Linked DNA regions of Homo sapiens: region 1 is linked to region 2. The links are contacts of gene promoters, found by promoter capture Hi-C in human tissues and cell types (Jung and others, 2019). All regions are on one chromosome and are shown on one strand. The core of a region is centred on a gene start or on the middle of the fragment in contact, and the rest is flanking DNA. Distances in the headings are between cores, read along the strand shown.

Region 1 (6,895 bases), core at 1,887-4,386, 410 kb before region 2:
CAGAGTAAGCATGCACAGGTAAAAGAAAAGTCTCTGAACATCTCCAAGTTAAAATGAGGAATAAGCAGTGCTGAGCCATGGAAAACTGTATGGGAGGATAAAGGGATCATGAATGGGTTTTTAGCTTCCTGTGAGCTGAATCTTATAGTTAAAATAATGATGTTACCTTCAAAATCTTCTTTATGCTATGGGTAAGACATGAGGGACCCCACCAGTGGAGACATCTATATTTAAACAAAATTATAAATATAACCCAAAGTCAAATAGAAATTATTTTCAGCATTTTAACCACCATCCCTCTCTACTATGAGAACTGAAAGTTCCGTTAAAAGAGCACTAGTACTTAGTGTCCTGGCTACTGTAAAGTTGCAAAGGAAATCCCTAATCTTAAGAAGTTTACAGTTACTGCTTGAGTCAAAACATAATAGCCCCACTGACACCTTCCATGTACTTCATTAACTTGTTAGGTCTCAAAATATAACTACTACTCCCACTTCTAAATATATACCCAAAAGAATTTAAAACAGAGACTCAAACAGATATTCACATACCCATACTAGCAGCAGCATTACTCACAATAGCCAAAAGGTGAAAGCAACCCATGTGTCCACTGATAGATGAACAGCTCAACAATATGTGTTACATATGTACAACGGAATATTACTCAGCCTTAAAAAAGGAAATTCACACATGCAACAACAGGGATGAACCTTAAAGATATTATGCTAAGTGAAATAAGCCAGTCACAGAAGGACAAATATTGTATGATTCCACTTATTTGAGCTGCCTGGAGTAGTCAAATTCTTAGAGACAAATAGAATGGAGGCTGCAGAAGAGAGTTAATATTTAATGGATACAGAGTTCCAGTTTGGGAAGATGAAAAATGTTCTGGAAGTGGATGGTGATGATGGTCATACAATAACGTGACTGTACTTAATGCCACTGAACTGTACACTAAAAAATGGTTAACACAGTAAATTTTATATTATGTATATTTTACCACAATTTAAAAAATCACTACTTCCAGCTTGATAAAGTAGAGCAAATACAGGAATAGGAATTCTAAGATGTGGGTTCTTCATTCTGCCACCAGGTAGCCTCAAAATTCTGAGCAAGTTCCTTAGCCTTTCAAAGTGTTATTCCGCTCACAGATTTGTAACAAAGATCAAATGAAAATGTATGAAACCATGCTCTGAAGGAACCAAAGCTGCATATATGAACATAAGGTACTATTATGATTAGCCGCAAACCTGTAAACAGGTGCCACAGAACTATGCGGGGAGAAGCGCCAAAGAACATTAAGTAATTCCCTCACCTCCTGTACAAGTGGTTGCTGGAACAACGGAATGAGAGGATTCGTCCTTGGAATGTCAATGTGAATCTGAAAAAGAGAAGGCATGTCCAAAAACACAAATGCCAGTTTTTTTTTGTTTTTGTTTTTTTGAGATGAAGTCTCGCTCTTGTCCCCCAGGCTGGAGTGCAATGGCACTATCTCAGCTCACTGCAACCTCTGCCTCCAGGGTTCAAGCGATTCTCCTGCCTCAGCCTCCCAAGTAGCTGGGATTACAGGCACCTGCCACCAGGCCTGGCTAATTTTTGCATTTTTAGTAGAGACGGGGTTTCACCATGTTGACCAGGCTGATCTCGAACTCTTGACCTCAGGTGACCCACCCGCCTTGGCCTGCCAAAGTGCTGGGATTGCAGGTGTGAGCCACCGTGCCTGGCCCAGTTTGTTCTTTTGACAATTTTTTTTTAAAGAAATGGGAATCATCTGGCTGGGTGCGGTGGCTCACGCCTGTAATCCCAGCACTTTGGGAGGCCAAGCCGGGCGGATCATGAGGTCAGGAGATCGAGACCATCCTGGCTAACACGGTGAAACCCTGTCTCTACTAAAAATACAAAAAATTAGCCGGGCGTGGTGGCGGGTGCCTGTAGTCCCAGCTACTCGGGAGGCCGAGGCAGGAGAATGGTGTGAACCCGGGAGGTGGAGCTTGCAGTGAGCCGAGATCGGGCCACTGCACTCCAGCCTGGGCGACAGAGCAAGACTCTGTCTCAAAAAAAAAAAAGAAATGGAAATCAAAGTAGTAAGAAAACACAATTTATCTTCAGAAAGAAGTGACTGACACAGGAAAAAAATCTAGTTATACCTACCTGCCCATGTGGAACATGTTTCCATGACAACAATAGCTTATTAAACAGTGAGGAAACCTCCCAAAAGAAACCACTAAAGTCAAATGGCAATAGGCTTCACAGATTAAGGGTTTTTTCTTATTGCTCTGAAGTCTGTTTCACTCTGGGCTGGCATGTATGTAGCAGGTATGATCCAAGTAGGTACCCATCTTTCAGAATCTTACTCATCAACAGTTCCTAAGAACTAGAAGAGCTCAGAAAGCTGCAAAAATGTCCTAAAATAGGGAACCAGAGATGAACTTGCTTATGAAGTCATGATGTGTAAGAAGCGGGGAAGGGCCAGGGCGATGGCTCACGCCTGTGATCCCAGCACTTTGGGAGGCTGAGGCGGGTGGATCACTTGAGGTCAGGAGTTTGAGACCAGCCTGGCCAACATGGTGAAACCCCGTCTCCACTAAAATTACAAAAATTACATGGTGGCTCATACCTGTAATCCCAGCACTTTGGGAGGCCAAGGTGGGTGGATCACCTGAGGCCAGGAGTTCAAGACCAGCCTGGCCAACATGGCGAAACCCCATCTCTACTAAAATTACAAAAATTAGCTGGGTGTGGTGGTGTGCGCCTGTAATCCCAGCTATCCAGGAGGGTGAGGCAGGAGAATCGCTGGAACCCAGCGGACAAAGGCTGGAGCAAGCCGAGATTGCGCCACTGCACTCCAGCCTAAGTGACAGAAAAAGACTCGGTCTCAAAAAAGATAAAGAAAAAATTAGCCGGGCCTGGTGGCACATGCCTGTAATCCCAGCTACTCAGGAAGCCGAGGCAGGAGAATCACCTGAATCCAGGAGGTGGGGGCTGCAGTGAGCCAAGATCACGCCACTGCACTCCAGCCTGGACGACAGAGTGAGACTCCATCTCAAAAAAAAAAAAAAAAAAAAAAAAAAAGTGGGGAAGGACCAAAAGGAGTTGGCCTTCAGTAACTGAAGCTGAAAGTTCTTACTTCTGTTACCTAAGACATCACTATAGTCCATTTCAACTCAGGGATTTCCCAGTGCCCAGTCTAACTATGCAAAAGACTGTGTCAGCAGCAGCAGCAGCAGAGGCTACTTCAGTTCTTGAGGCTTGTTGTAAATAGCTGCCCACCTTCCACTTTCTGCAACCCCTGGCCTACTCTTCTCCTCCCTCCACATGTGATGTTGGGAGCAGACCTTTCCGCAGACCATGAGGACCATTATGGGCAATGACAGAAGACTCCCTGACAAGACTACTGAAAGCTACAGCTCCTACAGTCACAGATGCCAAAACAGCAGTGCAGCTGCCAGGAAGACATACTGATGTCATAGTCCAGAGGGACTGGACCACGGCTAGGTAAGCTTGTCTTTCCTCTCCATGCTCGATAACGCTTACTACTCACAGTGTGGTTGGTGGACCAGCAGCAGCAGCATTGCAAGGGAGCACATCAGAACTTCAGGCTTTACCTGAGACCTGCTAAATCAGAATCTGCATTTTCTCATAATCTCTAGGTGAGATCTTATCAAGATCCTAGGTGATTTGTATGTACATTAAAGTTTGAGAAGCAGTGCACTGACTAGTGCCAAAAAAGTCTGTCTATTTAAAATGGCTAAAATCAGAGTTGCTGAATGAAAAGAGGGGAAACAGTTTTGAGGATAAATTTAACTCCTAACCAATATACCACAGCCTGAAGACTTGGAAAGCCTGTACCCTGAGAGCACTACCATGAGACATACCTAAAGTATATGACTGGTAAGCAAAGAGGCAGCAGGTGGTGACTGTACCTGTCTGTAGGTATCCTGGTGATGTTCCTCGTTTCGAGAGTCATAATACTGTTCAATGAAGCCAAAATATTCCTCCCGCTTCCGCTGCAGGGTCAACTTCCTCCTCTCAGTGTTTGCTGGGAGATAGCCCTATAGACAAGACTGCTGGTCAGATGGGGAAAGACAATGGTTGGATAAATCCTTAATTTTTATTTTAATCTATGCAGTGGTTTGGAAACTACCAAGAAGGAAAACTGCCAAGGGTAAATCCCTTTTTGGTTCTGGCCACCCATTTTTTGCCCTCTCCTCATTCAATGAGATCCACATGTGAGCAGATGAAGCAAGGCCAGCTTTCCCAGGATTATTTACTCCCTTGGCCCTGCACTGTGCTGGAGCTTGTGCCACTGGTGAGCACTCCTCAGCTCCCAGAGCTGGCACAGTACAGCAGTGAATGTAGGTCAGTGGGAGGGAGCTGGACCCAAGTCATGGCCTCGGAGGGCTGTGTGTGTCCAGGGCCATACTTCTGAGAAATGCAGGGATATAGCAACCTCTACAGCACATCTCAGCAGTGTGCCAAGTAAGTTGGTGCCAGTTACATTCTTTTCCAGTGTAACTTTCAGAATTACCAGCTTAGGAAGCAGCTGAATGGAATCTGTGACATACAGCTACAACACTCAGACAGAACTTCTGGCAGCAGCCCCCGGCCTAGCCAAAGCTCCAGGCCAACTTTCATTCTTATCCCTGGTCTAGATCCCACTCTCATTCTTATATTTTCTGTTCCCCTTCCGTTCTCACCAAATCTACTCTGAATAGTATTCAAACTTATTAGAAGTGGCAGAGGCAATGATTGCATGGTTGCAAGAGTAGAGGTGGGGGCGAGCAGTCAGGAGACAGACCCTTCTTCTTGAAAACATTTATGTAATGCATTCTGCAGTGAGTGCCTGGAGAGTGGGGACTGTGGTTTATTCATTTTTGCATCTGCTCAAAGCATCTGGCACTATGCCTGGCAAACAGCAGGCTCTCAATAAATCCTCACTAGATGAATGAATGAATTTTACAGGCTCAGGAAACCCAAGTGTTTCTATCATAGCGGCTGGCACAGTGCTCTGTACTTGGTGAAAGCAGGACTAGTAAAGCTTCCAAGGGAGGCCAATTTATCAACTCTTCACAGATCAAAGTGGGTTTCAACTTTTGGTTATTCCGGCTGAAACAGGAGTGAAGCACAGGGAACGTTGGAGCTTACTCAAAGCAAGTGCTGGGATCACCCTATCTCACTCTATTCTTCTTCCTCGCTGTTAAGAACATGACACCATGACTATTGGTACAAGTCTGTGTACCACTACATGTGTGTGAATAAACTCTCAAGAATGTATTTCTTTATGCACAGAAATAGGACTATAGTCCCATAGTTCTGTCATATCCAGTAGGACTAGAGAAGTCTATGGAGTTAAGACCAATGTGTCCAGACTAACCTCATCAGGCAAGAAGGGCTGTGTGAGGCTCACATTTCTCTACACAGTGGGTAGAACTCACCGACAGGAGTCTCCAGGTTATAGGTCGAACCTCCCTGGGAACCCCTGGCCAGCTACACTTCCTCAGTTCATCTGTAAATAGAAAACAGCCTTGTTAGGTTAACTCTCCACAAATGCTCTAAAGCAAACCGCAACCAGCACTGCCTGATGTCTCCTTCCATCCATGTAAGACCACCACCACCACCTGCTACCCATAAGCACAGTGAAAAGCCCAAAACAGCCCCGAGCAGCTAAGTGCCAAGGACACGGCCTTGCAGTAGCAGTCCTGTCAGCTCAGAGATGAAAGTTAGAGGGGAAGGGAAAGACCAGTGGGTGTAGATTTCAGTAAGAGTCACCTTGAGATAAGGAAGACCAAAGTCAGAATAGTTGCACTAGGGTCTACAGGCCACAGAAACCAGTCCCACCTAATTTGGTCCATAATCTCTAGTAACATATGTCTGACTTAATACCTGCATGTCACTGCAATGGGCACCAGGTCAGGAGAAGCTAGAAAAGTAAAAGAAGGAAGAATAAAGAGCAGTAGCTTCCAGGTCTCTGAGAATTCCAGTCACCCAAAGCTCCTACCTTGCCTGGGCTCACAGGGACTCACCTAAGTCAGTGTTCTGGCTGGAGAGAAGTTGACGGAATTTTTCTAGGCGGGTTTTCTCCCGGACAGTCATTGGGGGGGCCCCAGAAGCGTTCTGATCCGAGATCCGGGCAACGAGGGGGATGATGGGCCGGAGAGGGAGTGATTGCTGTTTGTGGAGTGGGTTCCTCAGGCATGTATCACCTGAGATCATTTGAAAAAGAAAGAGAACGGGCTGTGTGAGGAGTATGGATTCTGAGAAGCCTTAAACCTAACCGTTCAGCATTGTGTTTCCTCCCCAAGGGTGTGGCTGCCTGTGTGCACTGTCTGAGGTGCCCAGCTGAAGGGCAGCGAGGGGCCAGAACCCAGCCACACCCCATTCACTGCCCAGAGAAAGGGCTGCATTTATATCAAACACACCAAGGCACCTTAGGTGGTAACAGAGACGCCAGATGCTGCAGCAACTTTTGAGAACTTTTTTGGTGACTCTAAAGGTGCTAACAGAGACTCCAGATGCTGCAGCAACTTTTGAGAACTTTTTTGGTGACTCTAAAGGAAAATCAAATGTTTTCTTTCTACCCTAACTTGGAACTTTTCTTGGTGCCAAATAGTGAGTTTAGTTTAGTCTAAGGCAGTGTTTTCCTTCCCATTCCACACCACAGAGCACATAAGGAATGATGACACTGCAGATGACACCACAAAGCACAAGGCTGCAATAAATGGAGGTGGTTGCTCTCCACAAGCCCCAGAACCCCCAGCTGCTCCAAGGACTAAAAGGATCAATATCCCCGCACATCCTGTACCCGGTTCTTGGCCCACCAGTGTGCCCTGCACAATGGTGAGAAGCTCTGGCCTAAGGCAATCCTGCCTTTGGTGGCTGCGGTTCCTTTGTGCTC
Region 2 (7,372 bases), core at 3,185-5,684:
TCTGACTAGGGGTTTCAACACGTGATCTCTGGGCAAGCTGGTTGCCCTGAGTAATAGAAAAGATAAAAAAGGGAAAGGAAAGAGAGATCCGAGAGGGAGCTTACCTGTGATCCCCAGCTGCTGTGAGAGATCAATAGACACAAGTGGATCCTGCAGGTACCTTGCATGTTCACTCAGTGCTCCTGGGGGTCGCTAGAAGCTCCACTTTAGATCCCATTCCTGACACCATCTGATAAAAGAAAAACTTTGGCTGAATTAAGTTTGAAGGAGTTTAATTGAGCAATGAATGATTCGCAAATCGGGCAACTCCCAGAATCACAGCAGATTCACAGAGACTCCAGGGGTGACTCGTGATCAGAACAAATTTATAGACAAAAAGGTAAACTAACGTACAGCAATAGGAAGTGAGGTACAGAAACAGCGAGATTGGTTAAAGCTCAGTGTTTGCCTTATTTGAATGCAATTTGAACATTCGGCAGTCTATGAGTTGTTGAAGTATGGCCGCTGGGATTGGCCAACATTCAGCTATTGTTACAGGTATATACTATTAAGTTAAGTTTTCAAATTTGTCTGACTATAAAGCTAGGTTATAGTTCATCCACAAGGACTCAAATATAGAAGTACAAAGCCCTTCTCAGGCCATATTTAGTTTGCTTTAACACTGTGACAGACTGTACTAAGCACTTTCAATTCATGGAGCCACTTCATCAACCCTATGGCATAAATAGCCCCATAACATCCTCATACAAACAAAACTGAAGTTTATGGAGAGGTTAACTTGCTCAAGATTTTACAGATAAGGAATGGAAGGATCAGCATTTGAACCCAGACTCCTTAACCTGCCCTGTGTGTAGCGCCAAATCTCTTAACTGCTTTCTACAAGAAATCTGCAAACAAAATACTACTGGGTTCAGACTAATGCTATAGCTACAGAGGTAGTGTGACAGTGACATAAATGTATGAAACCAATGAAACAGAATAGAGAGACCAAAACCAGAAAACACATATATGGACACTTGATTTATGACAAAGAGGTGAAACAGAGGAGTGAGGAAAAGATAATGCTTTCAATCAATGGTGCTGGGTCAATTGTATATCCATATAGAAAAAAATGAAACTTGGCTCCTACCTCATACCATACACCAAGATAAGTTCTAGATGCATTGCAGATCTATATGATAAAAACAAAACAGAATTATAGAGCTGCAATATTGAGATGTCCAATAATGTCTGTCCAACACTGACATGTTCTGTAAGAGAGAAAATGCATATGTTGGACTACATTAAAATTAGAAACTTTCCAGTGTTATATTCTGTCCAGGATATATAAGGAACTTTACAAATAAGAAAACAGCCAAATAGAAAAATAGGTAGAAGATTTGAACACAAAAAGGTATCACAAAGAGGATATCTAAATGGCACACATATGGAAAAAGAATTCAACTTCATTAGTCATTAGTTGTTAGTGAAATTACTACTGAGATATTGTTATAGAGGCTTCAGGATTCCTTAAATGAAAAAGACTAGCAATACTAAGAGTTGGCTTGGAAGCAGAGCAACAGCAATTCTCACAGGCTGCTGGTGCATACATAAATTGCTACAGCCACTGGCCAGGCGTGGTGGCTCATGCCTGTAATCCCAGCACTTTGGGAGGCCAAGGTGGGCAGATCACAAGGTCAAGAGATTGAGACCATCCTGGCCAACATGGTGAAACCCTGTCTCTATTAAAAATACAAAAATTAGCTGGGTGTGGTGGCATGCGCCTGTAGTCCCAGCTACTCGGGAGGCTGAGGCAGGAGAATCGCTTGAACCCACGAGGTGGAGGTTACAGTGAGCTGAGATTGTGCCACTGCACTCCAGCCTGGCGACAGAGTGAGATTGTGTCTCAAAAAAAAACAAAAAATTGCTACAGCCACTTTGCAACAGTCTAGTGTTAACTACTAAATTATACATGTTACCTATGACACAGCAATTCTGCTTCTAGGTATATACTCCCAAAAATTCATGCACAAGTGCACTAAGATACATACACAAAATATCCATCGCAGCACCATTATACATTGTGGTATGTTTGTACAACAGAATACTACACAGCAAGGAAAAATGAAAAATGGCCACTACATACAACATGAATACATCTCACAAACATATTGTTAAGGAAAGGAAGCCAGGCACAAAAAAATACGTACTTTATAACTCCATTTATATAAAATTCAAAAACAGGGAAAACCAATCTATGATATTAGAAGGCAGAAAGTGGTCTACCCTTTGGGAGGAAGGAATGGGTAATGATTAGTAGGGGGGCTTCTGAGGAATTGGAGACATTTTATTTCTTGATTTGATTTGACCCCTCATGGCTTCTGGCTAACTCCAATTTATTTTCTGGATCTCAACCCAGGCTGTCACTCCAGGGGAAATTTTTGACTGTCCAAACCTACTCTGGAGTAACCAGAGCTCAGGGAAAACTGTGTTTCTTCTTCTTCTTCTTCTTCTTCTTTTTTTTTTTTTTTTTGAGATGGAGTTTCACTTTTGTTGTGCAGGGTGGAGTGCAAAGGCAAAATCTCTGCTCACTGCAGCCTCCACCTTCCGTGTTCAAGTGATTCTCCTGCCTCAGCCTCCGAAGTAGCAGGGATTACAGGCATGCACCACTATGCCCAGCTTATTTTGTATTTTTAGTAGAGACAGGGTTTCACCATGTTGGTCAGGTTGGTCTTGAACTCCTGACCTCAGATGATCTGCCCGCCTCGGCCTCCGAAAGTGCCAGATTACAGGTGTCAGCCACTGCACCCAACCTACTGTGTGCTTCTTATTACAGTCCTCATTCCACGCTCCTACAGCTACGTATTTAGTTGCCCATCTCTCCTAGAATGTGAGTTTCTTTAGGGCAGGGCACTGTGTGTGTGAGACTCATCTCTGTCTCCTCAGTGCCAAGTGACTGGTAGGAGCTGCAGTAAAAGATTTAGGAAGAAAGTGATCATGATCTTGGGGGTGGCTTTTCAATATTCAGACATTGGAGCCTGGGAATGGCACATGACTCCCGAGATACACAGTAAAGAACTACATAAAGTCCAGAGAAAGGCAACTTAACAACAGACTAAACAGACCAAGGATTAAGACTTTTTCATCCAGCTCAAGGGCCACAAGGTGGGCATGAACTTGAAACTGCAGGAGGTGTAAAAATTATACTTTAGCATTTATCAGTTTAAAATGTAGTGTTCCGTTCATTATTCATTCAGCAAAGCTGAGCACCCTGTGCTCTGTACTGTGCAAGAAGAGCACAAAGATGAAGGAGGCCCAGCTCCTCTCTCAAGGAGCTGTCTAGTTTATCTTTACAACCTTGTACATCCTTATTCCTTGTTGACAATTAGGGACATTACAGTTGAACTGTCGTTAAGAGCACAAGTGCACCAGCTGTAGTACTTTAAGCAAGTTATTTAATCTGTAAGGCTCAGCTTCCTCAAAGTAAAATGGGAATAGTAATATCTACCTTGTGGGATTTTGAAGATTAAGCGTGAAAATACGCAATAAAATGCTTAGCTTGATGCCTGGCACATGGTAAACATTCAACCATCATTATTAAGTGGTGTGCAAAGCATTTACAGCGTTAAGTTTAGGTACTCTATTTCATTTTTGTCCTCCCTCCAAACATTATAGCTCCTCTAATTTGCTTCTGTTCCTCGCGCCCTGCGCAAACCCTCCTAACAACTTTCAGGTACCATCTATCCCAGCCAATGTTAAGCCTTGTTCTTGCTCTGATCCGTTTGTCCTGTTTTCTCCTGTCTCTTCCTTTCTTTATCTCCTATTTTCTTCCTGCCCCTTCCCTCTCTTTTCTCCTCAGACTCCTCGTCTTTGGATTCTGCAGGCTCAGATTTGCTTTATGACTATGGAAAAACAAGTATTAACTGCCGAGTCTATTTTCAGATCTGAAAAATGGTAATAATACTATCTACTTATAGAATTGTTTTGTGGAGTAGATGAGATAAGAAAGTGCAAGCACTGTGTACATCGTACAGCGCCTTACAAAAATTCTTTACTGGCATCTCTAAACTACCCTCTTTCATTCTCTGCCTCCCCTTCCCGTCCCTGCCCAATTGTGAGACTAAGAAATTCTTCGAATTTAATATTAGGACATAACTCCAACCAGAGCGCAGCTTTTCTGGTTGTTCCCGCCTTCCATGCCTAAACGAACCAATCAGATCGCCCAGAGTGGCGCGGTATCGCCACTTGGAGACCACCGCGAATGAAGTTTGCATTTTCCTCTGTTCTTGAGCCCAGCTTCTTCTCGTCTCCCACCCCAGCTTCCCGGCATTGGAAGAAGGGACCGTCCTCTTCCTTGTCTTGGCCACCCAAATCCTGGTATCGAAAGGGTTGAACGGACCGGAAGTGTGCAGCAGCGACGGGTCCCCAGCTAATCGACGCCGGAAGTAGCAATTACTAGACAAGCATTCCGCCGCCGGCTTCGCTATGGCGGCAATTCCCCCAGATTCCTGGCAGCCACCCAACGTTTACTTGGAGACCAGGTGAGGGGGTTCGGGCGTCTGGGGCTGGCAGAGGAGACGCGGAGCCCGGGCCTCACCACGGGTCTGCGTTCCTGGCGCGTTCCTCCGGGAGGCCGGCCTCCACGTGGAGGGGCGTGGAGCAGCGGCCGAGACGGCCCCCAGAGGGTTGAGAGGGGACCGCCATCGCCCGCGTCCAAGCTCCGCGGGGTCTTGTGCTGAGGTCTCAGCAATAGCTGCCTGATTGTCCTCCTTCCCCCAGTCCGCTCATTCATTCATTCATTCATTCAACAAACGTGTAATGAGTCCGCAAGCCAGGCATATGGAATATGAGTTCTGAGGATACAGAGGTAGATAAAACACAGACAGCCCTGCCTTTAGGAGCTTACGGTATAATGAAAGAGACAGACATGTAAACATTACGTGATAAGTAATACAGTTGTAGAAACAAATTCCAGTAAAATACAGGAAGAAGCACATTTTCCCCACTATCAAAGAGTGATGTGGTAACCAACCTGCTGGCGCCATGCCCCGCTGTATGTCATCTCATTTAGTTTAATCTTAGCAACTCAAATCATGAAGGTATTATTTAACTTTCTCCCTTTCAATATTAGCAGGAGGAAACGCCGGAATTTACAGCTTAAAGCCTTGACCAAAGCCACACAGCTAGTAACTGGAAGAACCTCGTTTGGAGCCTGGTGTGCTCGTCTCACCTTGCTAGATCCTTTAGCTCTATTCATTCCATTGCCTCTTTGGAAAAAGCTCAAAGTGATCTTTACAAAGTAGGACAAGGAAGGGATCCTGCTCAAAAAACCTTTAATAACGTCTTGCTGCTATAACAGTATAAAGTAAAAACGTATTAATCCTGACATTCAAGGTGATTTTTTTCATCTGGCCCTTGTCTACCTGCCATTCTCCCCTCAACAGCCAGGGACCAGCCAAGGTCCTCTGCCTTTCTGTTCTTGCCCATTGCTGCTTTCAGCTAAAGCAGAGTTCTGTCAGTCCTCTCTCTATTTGCTCATGCTGTTCATTTCATGCTCCCTGGCCATCTTCCCCACCTTATATGGCAAAATTCTACATCTTCAGGCTCCAACCTGTAATTTCTGAATTCTCCTGTTGGTATTTTTTAAAGTTACAAAATAAATTGTTAAATCCAAGCAATGTAGACATACAGAGTAAGAAGTGAAAGTCACCTCCTTCCTGAAAACACCATCAACAGTTTGTTGGATGATTGTCCAGACTTTTTTCTATGTACATATAAACCTCTCTCATGTTTTTTTAACAAAAAAATGGGATCATATGATCATACTGTATGTATGTTTTTTCTGTAACTTGGTTTTCTTTCACTCAGTAATTCAGGTAGCTGCCCATAGTATGGATAGTTGATATTTTAGGCATTTCCTATTTCAAGGACATTTAAGTTGCTTCCTTTTTTTTTGGCTATGACAAATACTGAGATGAACATCCTTGCACATATTGTATCCTTAGGCACTTTTGTATATTTTCCTAGAGGATACTTGGAAGTTGAAATTACTGAGGTATGCACATTTCAGAATTGTATACGTACTTCCTGATTGTCTTTCCAAAAGGCTACTTTCTGTATTTTGAAAATATCCTCCAGAATGTAAGCTTCATGAGGGAAAGAGTACCACACACAGAGTAACTGTCAATCTGTGTTGAATGGGAGCAGTGTGAAAGATGAATTGGATGAATTTCAGGCAGAAAGGCTGTTAGCTATTTTCTAGCACACTCCTCATATACTTATAGAGTGTTTACACTGTGCAAGGCACTGGGTATCCAGACTATACAGAGTTGACTCAATTCTCACATCTGGCCAGGTGCCATAGCTCACATCTGTAATCCAGCACTTTGGGAGGCCAAGGCAGGTAGATTGCTTGAGCCCAGGAGTTCAAGACAAGCCCGGGCAACATGGTGAAACCCCATCTCTACAAAAAAATACAACAAATTAGCTGAGCTTGGTGATGCATGCCTGTAGTCCCAGCTACTCAGGAGGCTGAGGTGAGAGGATCACTTGAGCCCGGGAGGTGGAGGTTGCGATAAGCTGAGATTGTGCCACTGCACTGTAACCTGGGTGACAGAGGAGACCCTTTCTCAAAAAAAAAAAAATTGTCACATCCTTGGAGCTTAAAGTCTAGGTATGTGCTGGAGTAGAGGGGAAGGCACTCGTCCTTTCTCTTGCCTCTTCCTTATCTTTTAGTAGTACTGGTGAGGAAAAAGCACTCATCCTATTGGGTAGGTGCAAAGATTCAAAGTTACCAGGTTTTGCCTTTGTTATACTCCCTCCCAAACAAACACAAACTGTACCTTTTATTGAAATTTTTTGAATAGGTAATGTATTTACATGGATCAAAAATACAAAAGTTTTTAAAAGGTATTCATTAAACATCTTCCTATTTTCCATCTACCCAGTCCCTACCCCCACCCAGAAACTTCTAAATAAATATGAACTCCTGATATTTTAATGTCTCTTTTTTTAAAAAATTAAAAATTAAGTGTAAGAATTTTTTTCCTAATTTAGGGGTTGGTTATATTGGTTTCAGATAATCAGATATAGCTATATATATATACATATGTATATATGTATAGTATTAGAATTTTGAGTTCTCCATGCTTGTTATTTTGCTGAAAAGAAGTACCCAGAACACCTGCGTGTTTTACTCAAAAAAGATAATGGGTGTTTATGTTACTTGCATTGTGGTGTTTTCCTTTGCTGAGCATGAAATCCAGTGGTTATCACAATTTCATGACTTACAAGCTTGAAAATCAAGAGTCCTGGAGCAGTTCCATAATACTCCTGTCTGCCCTGACCTTTTTGTTTACTGGAGCTGTTGTCCTCTCCCTCTGCAGCATGGGAA

What was found. Contacts are between HindIII fragments. The study calls those that stand out against the background at their distance.
Region 1: a contact is called between a fragment that was not itself captured here and the fragment with the promoter of PPIL1 in region 2, in 1 of the 25 tissues and cell types used here (IMR-90 fibroblasts).

Annotation. Positions count from the first base shown.
Region 1 is chr6:37,281,493-37,288,387 of GRCh38, reverse strand. It overlaps TBC1D22B (TBC1 domain family member 22B), which reads right to left. Exons shown (of 13, transcript NM_017772.4): 4 at 6,024-6,203; 5 at 5,436-5,506; 6 at 3,924-4,052; 7 at 1,316-1,381. Among named protein-coding and RNA genes, the nearest start is that of TMEM217B, 27 kb to the right of the region's middle. RefSeq lists silencers at 409-468, 509-598 and an enhancer at 2,260-2,309. The HindIII fragment of the contact is 6,830 bases long and covers 1-6,551 here.
Region 2 is chr6:36,871,865-36,879,236 of GRCh38, reverse strand. PPIL1 (peptidylprolyl isomerase like 1) reads left to right here and starts at 4,434. Exons shown (of 4, transcript NM_016059.5): 1 at 4,434-4,520; 2 at 7,365-7,372. The coding sequence starts at 4,465. It also overlaps a transcript of C6orf89 not described here. RefSeq lists an enhancer at 4,214-4,443. The HindIII fragment of the contact is 10,323 bases long and covers 1-6,699 here.